2 separate regions of the Homo sapiens genome follow, and region 1 is linked to region 2. Evidence: promoter capture Hi-C in human tissues and cell types (Jung and others, 2019). All regions are on one chromosome and are shown on one strand. The core of a region is centred on a gene start or on the middle of the fragment in contact, and the rest is flanking DNA. Distances in the headings are between cores, read along the strand shown. Region 1 overlaps ACOXL (acyl-CoA oxidase like). Region 2 holds the start of ACOXL (acyl-CoA oxidase like).

Region 1 (6,598 bases), core at 2,554-5,053, 35 kb before region 2:
AGAAACAGGTGCAGGAGAAGTTGGCACAGAGAACAATGATGGTGTTCACACTGTGTGTGTGTCTGTGTGTGTGTGCGTGCACACTCTGCAATCAGACTCATATTGTTTTTTCGCTTTAAAATTATTGAAACATCTCAAATCTATTACAGATGGCAGAGGGGAAAACACAGCGTGGAAATATTTTAATGGTTTATTCTTGGCCTGCGGACTGTCCATAGAGACCTGGAGTGAATGAGACTCCCTTCTTATTTGTCCCCTAGAACATCATCATTACACATTATACACCGCGTTCTGCCTCAGAGCTCATCGGATCATCCACAAAAGTGGAGAGCAACATGAAAGGGGGGTCCAGGGAAACACAGACGGGCCTGGCATGCTCCCTGAGCAGGCAGGACAGCCATGACTCAATCATTTTATTAAGAGGCAGGATGAATCATGTAACACTTCTAGAATTACTGGATGTGGACAGCTCCTCCAGCTGTTTACAGGGCGGAATTTGAGAGCCTTCAAACACAGATGTGCTGCCGAGTCTCATGACATCCGCCCAGCGAGATGAGCCTGCCGCACTGATGGCCAGTTTCATTTCCTTCAGGTTTATTGGCTTTTGTGAATTCATACAGAGAGAGGTGCCAAACAGGCCGAGATAATTCACAGAAATGACTGGAGGGATGGTCTAGGGCCAATCCTGTGCCTCCTGGAGGAATTATATCTAATCACCCAGGACAGAGAGTTGTCCAGGCTGCCTAAGGCCACTAAGTGAGCCAGGAAAACAGGAAGATAATTGGATCCAGAGCTCAACACGCTTCATCAGGAGCGAGATTACAGAGGCTAATCCTTCAGACTCAGCGGGTCGGGCTGCAATTAGCAAGCCTCATTAAGGGATCAGCTCTCACATCCGGGTCTTGAGTATTGACACTAAGTTAAGCCACAGACATGTTGGGCTGATTAAGGGAGCAAGAAGCTGGCCACAGGCCAAGATTTCACCTTCCAACCAGCCCCATGCCGAACGCACTTGGAGGCGACTCTGACAGAGAGAGTGGTTGGCAGCAAAGAGGTTGGTTGTTTTTGTGTTTTTTTTCTTTTTTGGTTGTATTCACAGCTCTAAATGGATGCTCCATCAAGAGGCAATTTCCTAGCTTGAAAATCTCTGCCAAACTACTTGGTATGAAATGATTTTTTACGCTTCGCAAGCACGCTCCACTTTGTCACATGGGAGTTTTCCTGTGCCAAGTGAACATCCATCTGCACGTTCTCCAGCTCAGCTGACACTGCAGCGCCCTTGTCAGCGTGGAGGTGCCTGCAGTATCGCAGCGCAGGTGGTGCCAAGGCTCTGCCTGTAATTCCTTCCTGAGAAGACTCCAGGATTGGTCCTTGTCTCCTTAGACAACCTACCAAAGGTTGGTGGGATTGTGGGGAAGGGAGAGGGATCTACTTTCAAGCATGGATCCCAGGCCCCCACTAGCTCCATTCTACGCTCCACAAAGAAAGGCGCCCCTGTGGTCTCCTGAACTGGGAGGACTCCATCCCTCAGTCCTCAGACTCTCCCTCCCAGACCATGCTGGGTGGGGAAAGGGCTGGGCTGCTGCAGGATAGGGTCGGCTCCTCAGCATGCCGCTGAGCTGCAGCTACCCTAGTTCAGGCTCCTCCCTTAGGGGGTCTCAGAGGGCGGGTGGTGTTGGGTTTTTTGTTTGTTTGTTTGTTCATTTTGAGACAGGGTCTCACTCCGGTTGCCCAGGCTGGAGTGCGGTGGTGCGATCATAGCTCACTGCAGCCTCGACCTCTGGAGCCTCAAACGATCCTCCCACCTCAGCGTCCCAAGTAGCTGGTACTACAGGTGTGGGCCACCATGCCTGGCTAGTATTTGTTTAGTGTTTTGGGGTTTTTGGGGTTTTTTATTTTATTTTATTTTATTTTTTGAGACAGAGTCTCGCTTTGTTGCCCAGGCTGGAGTGCAGTGGCGCAATCTCAGCTCACCGCAACCTCCGCCTCCTGGTTCAAGGGATTCTCGTGCCTCAGCCTCCCAAGTAGCTGGGACTACAGGCGTGCACCACCACACCTGGCTAATTTTTGTTTTGTTTTGTTTTGTTTTGTTTTGTTTTAGTAGAAACAGTGTTTCACCATGTTGCCCAGGCCATGTTTCGCCATGTTGAGGCCAGGCTGGTCTCAAACTCCTGGCCTCAAGTGATCCACCTGCTTCCCTCCCAAAGTGCTAGGATTACAGGCATGAGCCACTGTGCCTGGCCAGTTTTGTATTTTTTTTTTTGTGGAGACAGGGTTTCACCATGTTGCCCAGGCCAGTCTTGAACTCCTGGGCTCTACCCAGTATCAGCCCACCTTGGCCTCCCAAAGTACTGGGATTACAGATGTGAGCCACCACACCCTGCTGAGGTATATTTTTTCCTATATACCATGAAGCTGAATGAACTTGGCTAAAATACATCACTCCTAATACTGACACAAAGGAACTCACTAATCATGTATTTTTTTCTTTCTTTCTTTCTTTCTTTCTTTCTTTCTTTCTTTTTTCATGAGGCTAAATTGACTAAAATAATACCACTAAATTTAGAATGACAGTTTTTAGACAAATAAGACATAAACTTTGGATAAGTCTAAAGTACTTTAAAAGCCCTTAAAATGAGTTATTTCTATTTCCCAGCTATTTAACTTTATCCCTAAAATTATATGGGTTTTGTGTACAAATATTTTATTACTTCTGCTGATACTCCTATTCCCTCGCCTGTGAGATTGGAGAAGTGAATGTGTGGGCCGAGGAAAGGGTTTGTTAGGTTAGTGGGAGTGGGGCAGAAAAGGGGCCTGAGGAAGACACTCTCCTCCACCGAGACCTGTCTGTCAGCTGCCCTCAGCATGAGATCAACAGGCTTAGCAAGTCACAAAAGCAAACAAAACAAAATCTCTAAGCAAATTAACATAGGAACAGAAAACCAAATACCGCACGTTCTTACTTATAAGTGAGAGCTAAACACTGAGTACACGCAGACACAAAGAAGAAATCAATAGGCGCGGCGGCCTACTTGAGAGAGGAGGGTGGGAGAAGGGTGAGGGTCAAAAAACTACCTATCGTGAGTTCAGTGCCCACTACTGGGGTGAGGAAATACTCTGTACATCAAACCTCCATAACACGCAATTTACCCATGTAACAAACCTGCACATATACCCTCTAAACATAAAATAAAAGCTGGAGAGAAAAAAACTCTCTCTCTCTCTCTCTCTCTCTCACACACACACACACACACACAACCATACCAGAATAATAATGACACTTACCAGATCCTGACCTGCACGTTTTAACAGAGGCAGGTCCATGGCAAACTTCACTCTCTGAACTGTCAAAGCTCTCATTTCATCCAAGCTTAAATCATACCTGTGAAGAACAGATACAAAATAAGACAGCCAATAATTGGTGACTGAGGGGAGGCTGTGGATGCTTTGACCCCGGGCTCAGACAGAAAAGCTGTGTCCATTGTAATGCTTGTTTGATACTGTGCACACTGTGTGTGTCACACAGACTGGGTGTTCAATACAGCCAGACACAGGGAGGGAGAGATGGAAGGATTTCCTGACAAGACCATCTTATTCTTCTTATTAATATTATTATTTGAGATGGTGTCTCACTCTGTTGCCTAGGCTGGCGTGCAGCAGTGCAATCTCGGCTCACTGCAACCTCCGCCTCCCGGGTTCAAGCGATTCTCCTGCCTCAGCCTCCCAAGTAGCTGGGACTACAGGTGCCCACCACCATGCCCAGCTAATTTGTGTGTGTGTGTGTGTGTGTGTGTGTGTGTGTGTGTGTGTGTGTGTGTGTGTGTGTTTAGTAGAGACAGGGTTTCGCCATATTGGCCAGGCTGGCCTCAAACTCCTGACCTTGTGATCCACCCGCCTTGGCCTCCCAAAGTGCTGGGATTACAGGCGTGAGCCACCGCGCCCGGCCAAGACCATCTTAAAACAAGACTGCAACACCTCCTGCTCTGCAGTCCTTTGAAAATTGTCTGAGATGACTTAAAAGCAGCATTTGGGAGATAGGGGCAAGGGAGTGACATGCGTGTTGCAAGAGGTGGACTGTGGTGGCCATAAGGATTGCCACTCAGGGTTGCCTTCGAGATTACCTGCTTCCAGCTGCCACACCTTTGGAATAACAGAGTGATGGTAATTACATTCACCATGAGGCTGCTCATCTCTTGGCTGCTACTAGCTGATGGTTGAGCCTCACAAGGTTCTAGAGTCAGGCCATGCCTGCCCAAGAGGTGACCTGCTCTGGGAGCCCACTTGCCTGCAGACTTTGTCATCACTGTACTGTGTCTGAGGCTTTCCCAGCTCAACCCTTTCCTCCCCCTCTCTTTGCAAGGAAGCCAGACCTGACTGCCTTTGTTCTGAGGGTTCTCCCCACCAATCCAGCTCCCTCCCACTTACGCTTCTCAGGTGTTTTCTCCCATTAAATCTCCTGCACATCTAGCCCCACCTTGGTGCCCACTTCTCAATGAACCTAAACTGACACAGGAGGAGAGGTTCCTCTTTGGCCACCTAGAATGTTTCCATGCAACGCACAGCCTGAGCCTGTAGGACCTCACTCAGGTTAGATTTCAGAGCCAGAGGATATGAAAAGGATGGCCTAACAATAGAAAACCTTCTTGGAGATACCCACCCAACAACAGAAAAACATCAGAGCAAAACACACCCATCTTCCTCTCCTGCAGTCTCAGTGGGGCATTGCTCTTCCTCTCTACCCCATAACCCTGCAAAAGCAGGAGGGGGCACTCCAATTCCTTTCTGCAAGGCTGAGGGGAGAGTTAACCTTCCACCTCTTGTCTTGCAGAGCAGATGGAGTGTCTGAGTTCCCGACCTGGTGCACACCTTGGTGGGCCAAGTAGGGAGCTGATCTTCTATCTCCTGCCCAGCAAAAGCAGGTGGTGCCAGGGTAGCATTAGTGGAGTCCAGTAGTGGCCATCTATACCCAGCAACAACAAGGCCTAGCAAGAAGATGCGAGGTAAATCTAGTCACACCCTGCTTCACACCAACACCCCATCAGCAGGACCCAATGGGAAGCTGAGACTTCACCCCTACTCGGTATTAACAAGGAAAAAGGAGGTGGTAGGAGAGAGGGTCAGTTGGCACTTAATTCACCCCTCTCCTTCCCTGGCGTCATTAGCACCCAGAAGAGAACTGACCTTCCATCCCATACCGGTGACAACAAAGTGATGTGGGTCAGCTTTCAACTTCCCCCTTCCTGATGGCAGCTCAGCCCAGTGGGGAGGGGATGATCTCACATCCCCATCTGAAGGCAACTGAGGTCATGAGATTCAAGAGGGGAGCTGAACTTCCACTCCATACATTTTCAACAAAGTTGGCTCAACAGGAAGCTGAATATACATGGCCACCTGGACATCCCAATATACCTCAACAAGGGACCCCATGCTAAAAAATATTCAATCAATCTTGAGCAACATAATAAAATATCCAAAATGTCTAGGACACAATAAAAAATTGCTCATGATACCAAGAACTGTCAGAACACATACAAAGAATTTACTAAGAATCATCACAGCAACAAGGAACATCACAACATGAATGATAAAGAAATCAACAGATACCCACACCAAGATTAATCAGACATTGGAATTATCTGATGAAGATTTTAAAGCAACCATCATAACCATGCTTCAATAAGTAATCATAATTTCTCTTGAAATAAATGGGGAAAAAAACAGAAAATTGTATCAAAGAAGTGCAAGTTATAGAAAAGAATAAAATGGAACTCATAGAACTGAAAAATATGATAACCAAATTTTTTAAATCTCACTAGATGAACTCAAGAATACAGCATAGATGAAATAATAGAATCAGTGAACTTGATGACAGATTGCTATGGTCTAAATGTTTGTATGTCCTCCAAAATGTATATGTTGGATCCTAATCACCAAGGTGATTATATTAGAAAGTAGGGGCTCTGGGAGATGATTAAGTCATGAGCAGTTCACCCTCATGAATGAGATTTATGCCCTTACAAAAGAGGTCCCAGAGACCTGCCTTGCTCCTTCCAGTATGTTAGAACATAGCAAGAAGGCACCATCTATGAACCAGAAAGCAAGACCCTCACCAGACACCAAATCTTCTGGCACCTTGATCTTGGACTTCCCAGCCTCCAGAATATGAAAAATAAATTTCTGTTATCTAAAGGCAACCTGATCTAAGATATTTTATTTTAGACTAGAACACAAATCAATAGAATTTATCCAATCTGAACAACAAAGAAAATATAGACTGAAAAATAAGACAAATATTTCTCAGGAACATTTGGGACAATAATAACAGAGCCAACATGCATATCTTCAGTTTTGAAAAGCAAAAAAAAGAGAGACTGGACCAAAAAAGTAGTATAAGATATAATAGCTAAAAACTTCCCCTACTTGGTAAAAGACATAATAAACCTACAGGTTCAGTAAGCTGAGCAAATAATTGGCTAAACCCAAAGAAGCCCATGTCAAGAAACATCATAATTAAATTTCTTAAAATTAAGGCCGAGGAAAAAATCTTGAAGGCAGCTAGAGAGAAATGATGGGTTACTTATAGGGGAAAACCATTGGA
Region 2 (5,973 bases), core at 524-3,023:
GTGAGCTGAGATCACACCACAGCACTCCAGCCTGGACAACAGAGTCAGACTCCGTCTCAAAAAAAAAAAATTATGAGGTCCCCAAAGAGCTTTTATTTGGGTGGGTTATATCCACTGATATTTCCCGTATTAGAAATTAAAACAGAAAAGTTTTCAAATGTTTATTAATTCATTTGAAAATAACTAATAAATCTATTAGTGTATTTTATGAAAATAACTATTTTCCAAAACAAAAAAAGTTAGCAAGAAGAGTAGCATCGTTCTATATTTTTACAAATCCCTTTACTGTCTGTCTTAATAGAAAGCAGCTGTATTCTCATGTCTGCTTCTATATTTTTTCTGCTGGAATACTACACATCATGTGGTCTCTGGAAACTGCCACTGTACATTAGTGAGAGAATGAGAGTGAAAAAGCTAATAACTTTTTTTGTATTACTATAAAAACAGTTTGTACTCATGAACCGCCTGAAATGCTCTTGGGTCCCCCCAGGGCTCCCTGTACCACACTTTGAGAACCATAACTTAAAGAACTATGTATGAGAGAGAGGGAAAGAGAAGTCGGCGAGACACTGATGGATATACCCACCATCCCACACTTCTCACTTTTCAACTTTCAAACGCCCCCAACTCCCCACTAGGTAACCTCAGTGCAGGAACCCCAGATTCTCCAAGGACAGCCTGACGTTCACTCAAGCCATCTCCTTCCCTCTCATTTCCGCAAAATAAATTAAACGAGGGCTAAGTGGGCATGGCTAACCAATTAATCCTCCACGGGCACATACTGACATTTTTAATAGGGCCTTTCTTAAGCTAGAACTCCAAAGCATGCCTCCAACTGGGCTTTTCAGACTGCTTGAAATGGGTATGAGAAAGAGAGCCCACAGGAGACACGAATGCCGAGTTCTGGTCCTGACTGTCCGGTGACTGAACCATCTCTCTATCTCCAGTGCAGCTCAAGCACTCAACCCTCTGCCTGCTTCTCAGGGCTGTCCTGGCATCGGATGACATCGAGGACCTGAGTTCTTCTTATAACCAAACCGCCCCGCTGAAGCTGCCCATTCCGCACACCTGCACTCCGAGGGGGTCCTGTAAGCCTGTCCCACCCCGACGCCCAGACACGCCCTGGACAGGGCCACTCCATCCCTGTGCGCCCATCCCATCGCGGTTTTCTGTCCCCTTCTCCCCACCAAGGGTGGGACATCGCGGGGCGGGGACTCAAGAAACAGGTTCAACAAACCAGCAAGGCCGATCTTCCAGCCACACGGTCTTCGTAGACACCGCGCCTGTCACCGCGGGGCCCAGCCCTGCACCCGACTCTTCGTGGGGGAGGGAGCTCGGGAGGAGAGGGCACCTCTCAGGGGGCCGAAGAGGTCGGCGGCGGCCGGCTGCGCCCACACACCTGGGGAGGGGAGCCCGTCACCTGCGGCGAGGCAGGGACCCGCCTCTCAGGCGCGGCGCACACCCCACCTCGCCCTCGCCAGGGCGTTGTCCGCAGCGACGCTCCGGGGACCGAGGGGACACGCTCGGCGGCTTCGGGGGCGCGGGCAGGGGCGACGGCCGCAGCGCGGTACCTTTGCCGGAAGAGCGGGCGCCGCCGAGGAGTCCGCGCAGCTCGTTCTTGAGGCTCCAGAAGTCGCCGTCCAGGTAGCGGTGCAGGGAGGAGTCCCCGAGCCCCAGACCCGGCGCCGGCTGCATCGCGCTCACCTGCCTCTGCTTCTCCGCGTGGCTGGCAGGGCCGGCTTCGCTCCGCGCCTCCTCCAGCTCCCAGCAGGTGAGGCCCCAGGCGCACGCCCTCTCCCTCTCCACCCCTCCCGGCCCGTCTCCTCCCTCCTCACCTTCCTCTCCCCTCCCTCCCCGGCCCCGCCCTGCCCTGGCTTCCCGGGCGGGAGGTCCGGCGCGAGCGGGCGCTTCTACGGTGGCCTCCCCTTGCCCTTCCGAGGAAGCGAAAACTCTACCCTCCAGTTATCAACTGTCCCTCAAGATTTGTGAGCCGTAAGAAACAAGTACTAGACCCCTAGAAAGGGTGCCAGTCACGTGGACCTGGGCACCAGAGGCCCGGCTGCTCAGGACTGACCGGCTGACCCACTCAGCAGATCTCCCGGCCAGCCACTTTGCCTGACCCCCACGACCCAAGATAGCCTGGCTCCAGCTCTGGCCCCTCCTCAGCTGTATCTCACCTCTTCCCCGCACTGGGCATTACTGTGAACTCTAATATCACGGTAATCTAAAGGCGTCCCAGGTCTACAGCACTGCAGTCCAGGGTAGCTGGAAGCTGCATTCATGACGAGGTGATCGACCGGAACACGATACTCATTTCCCAGGACACTCCTTTTTTTGTTGTGGCTGGAGGAAAATGAGTTATAACCTAAGTGGAAAATGTTCCTTCCTTTCTGCTCCCTAATTCTCATATACCTTGTTGATTCTCCTTTTAAATACTCAAGGAAATGTTAGCCGTTCCCTTCCAGAGGCTACTTTGCTGGGGAGATGATGGTGTGGTCTGCTGTCGTGAGGTTAGTGGATGCCATCTGTATTCGTTTCCAGTAACAAATTCCCACAAAGTGAGTGGCTTAAGATAGCACCAATTTATTCTCTTACATTTCTGGAAGTCAGAAGTCCAAAATAGGACTTACAGGGTTAAAATCAAGGTGTTGGCAGAGCTGGGTTCCTTCTCACAGCTCCAGGGAAAAATGCATTTCCTTGTCTTTACTAGCTCCTAGAGGCTGCCTGCATTTCTTAGCTCCTGGCCCCTTCGTCTGTCTTCAAAATGCATCACTTCAAGCTCTGCTTTCATCGTTCCATCTTCTACTGACTTTGACCTTCTTGCCTCCCTTGGACTTGTTTACATGGGACCCATGGGAATAATCCATGGTCAATGGGAATAATCTTCCCACCACAAGATCCATACTTTAATCACACCAGCAATGTCCATTTTGCCATATCAGAAACACACTCTCCGGTACTAGGGATTAAAACATGAGCACCTTTGGCGAGTCATTCCTCTGTCTACCACACCTGTGCAGCTGCGAGTAATAATACCCAGTCATCCATGATAAAAGGGGCTTTGTTTTCTCACATCACAGGAAGCTTGGTGGTAGGAAAGCCCCAGGGGTGAATTTGATGGCTCTACCCTGGGGACCCAGGTCCTTTGCATCTTTCTGCTCCACCATCCGCCATCCTTTCTCTATATGTAATCGTTACCTTTTTTTTTTTAACTTGTCTTCTACCAGTTGTAAGATGGATGCTGCAGCTCCAAGCACCACCCTGTGCAAAGCAGAAGAGGAGTATTTCCTTCTATATCAGCCAAAATAGTGTAGTGGTAACAAACAACCCCGAAACGACTTCACATACACTTCCTCAAATCTTAGGGCCTAAAAAGACAAGAGTTTATTTCTCACTCATGCTACCTGGGGGTTCTGTTCCATGTCCCCTCGGTCCAGGTCCTGGCTGACAGAACAGCCATGATTGTGTGGCCACACTGGCTTTTAAAGCTTCCAGCTGGAAGAGACACACATAACTTCTACTCACAATCCACTGGACAAAGCAGCTCACTCCTGTCTCGATGGGGGAAGGGAGGTACCACCCTGGACATGCCCAGGAGGTCAACACCCAAAATCATCTGTAAGCAGAGCTAGTGACTATTCAATCTGCCCTTCTGGTCACACTCTCCCTTCCACAGGCAAAATATACTCTCCATCCTTCCAGGGAAGCAGCCAAAGCCCCACACCTCCACAACATCAAGTCTGAGGCCCCTGGGGGATACAGAGTGGTCCTTGCATCAAGTCAGGATGTGGCTCCTCTTGATCCGGAGACCTATAAACTGAAAAGATAGGTTACTAAGTTAACTTCCAAGTGAGTGTTTGCTTGAGTGAGAAAAAAGAAAGGCCTCTGTTCTTAGAAGCCACTAAGATTTTTGTTGTTGTTGTTGTTGTTTCTTGACGTGGAGTTTTGCTCTTGTTGCCCAGGCTGGAGTGCAATGGCATGATCTTGGCTCACTGCAACCTCTGCCTCCTGGGTTCAAGCGATTCTCCTGTCTCAGCCTCCTGAGTAGCTGGGATTACAGGTGCCCGCCACCAAGCCTGGCAATTTTTTGTATTTTTAGTGGAGACACGGTTTCACCATGTTGGCCAGGCTGGTCTCAAACTCCTGACCTCAGGTGATTGTGATCCACCCACCTCGACCTCCCGAAGTGCTGGGTTTACAGGCATGAGCCACCGCACCCGGCCAACCACTAAGATTTTTTTTGAGGGTCATTTGTTACGTAGCCAATCATAGAAGATACTAAAAGAATGTTGCTGATTAAATAAAAAACTAAAATAGGTACATTGGCTTAGAGGCTGGGAGGGGCAAGGAGGATGCTGTCGACCAAAGCATTGTTGTTGACCAAAATTGAAAATGGTCCCTTTTATGAAGAGGCAAATATTTGACAAAGTTGCCACTGACAGGAGACAGACCTAACTTGGAACTTATCACTCCAAGAGAAGTTGCTGAAAACACAAGGTTAGTATTGCATGTTGGCTGCTTTTGCTTGTGTTTGGCAAGACATTATAAGAAAGAGATGGGCTTACAAAAGAATTAACCAGTTTGCAAGCAGGGATGGAAGGGAATAGAGTCCACAAGTTCAGGGACTTTTAGGGTTGGGAGAGGCAACTGCTTCACGACTTCTATTAGTAAAAGATGAAACTGAGAAATATTTAGTAACAAAAGCCCATTAAAATTCAGGAAACTCAGACTCTACTCCCTTGCCCCTTGTGGCAAGAATAGAATCAAGAGTCTCACTTGAAACCTGTAACAAATAGGTTTTGTGGATTCCCAGTAAGCCATCTTACTCCCGGGCCTTGTCCATCTGAGCAACCCCCATCTGAAGCATCACTGGTCTCTGCGTCAGAGGATGAGAGCACGGTTTGGATCACCCACGGACTTGTAAATGTACACCCAGAAGTGTCAAGCGTAATCTAGCCTGTCCTGGAAGATACCTCAAGAATCTGTTTACAAGCCACACCTCTCTCTAAGAGCCAGAGAAGTGTAATCCTCCCAGGCGCCCCCACCAGCCAACGCTAAAGACTACCACACTCCTGTGAATCTTTTGTTACTAGGAAAGAATAGCTGACAAAAGACCCAGTAAAATTGCCCTTGGGCCATCTTGGCTTAACTAGGTCCCTTGACCACTATATTATTTTCCTACAGTAACAAATTACCAGAAACTTGGTTAGGTAAACGGCAGAAATTTAATTATCTCACAGATTTGGAGGCTAGAAATCTGAAATGTTCAGCAGCGCCTTGTTACTTTTGAAGGCTCTAGGGAAGAATCCTTCCTTGCCTTTTTCTAGATTCTGCTGGCTCCCAGCAATCCTTGGTATTGCTTGGCTTATAGCAGCATCATTTCACACTCTGCCCCATCATCACATGGCCTTCCTTTCTGTGGGTCTCTATGTCTTCAAATCTCCCTCCTCTTGAAGGACATTGGTTGTAGAATTTAGTGCCCTCCCTAATCCAACATGACTCATCTCAACTTGATTACATCTGCAAAACCCCTATTTTCAAAGAAGGTCACTTTCTGATATGAACGTTTAGGGAACACTATTCAACCCAGTATACCCACCCAGAACTAACGGGAACTGACAAATGAGAAAGAAATAAAAGGAAGTGACCATATACTGGCTTAGATCAATGGTTTCCACACTAAGTGTGTATCAGAGTAACCATGAACACAGACACACAAATACACACGACTTGGCCAATCGATCCAATTTCTAGAGGTAGGCATCTGTAGTTTTTAAAAGCTCCTCTCCACCCCAGGTGACTCTACTATTGTGCAGCCAGGGCTCAGCCCATGGGCTTAGGCTCAATGGTTCTTGATCTTGCTACGCAGGGGATTACTACATTATTGGGAAAATTGGTGAAATTTAAGCAACATGGATAATATAATACTGTATCAATGTTGACTTTATGGTTTTGATTATTGTACTGTGGATA

The links. Contacts are between HindIII fragments. The study calls those that stand out against the background at their distance.
Region 1: a contact is called between a fragment that was not itself captured here and the fragment with the promoter of ACOXL in region 2, in 1 of the 25 tissues and cell types used here (H1 embryonic stem cells).

Annotation. Positions count from the first base shown.
Region 1 is chr2:110,765,152-110,771,749 of GRCh38, reverse strand. It overlaps ACOXL (acyl-CoA oxidase like), which reads right to left. Exons shown (of 18, transcript NM_001142807.4): 2 at 3,286-3,382. The coding sequence starts at 3,360. Among named protein-coding and RNA genes, the nearest start is that of ACOXL, 36 kb to the right of the region's middle. The HindIII fragment of the contact is 7,624 bases long and covers 1-6,598 here.
Region 2 is chr2:110,728,373-110,734,345 of GRCh38, reverse strand. ACOXL (acyl-CoA oxidase like) reads right to left here and starts at 1,773. Exons shown (of 18, transcript NM_001142807.4): 1 at 1,572-1,773. LOC124906064 (a long non-coding RNA gene) reads left to right here and starts at 1,921. Exons shown (of 3, transcript XR_007087181.1): 1 at 1,921-1,992; 2 at 2,442-2,510; 3 at 2,711-2,985. The HindIII fragment of the contact is 4,333 bases long and covers 1-3,286 here.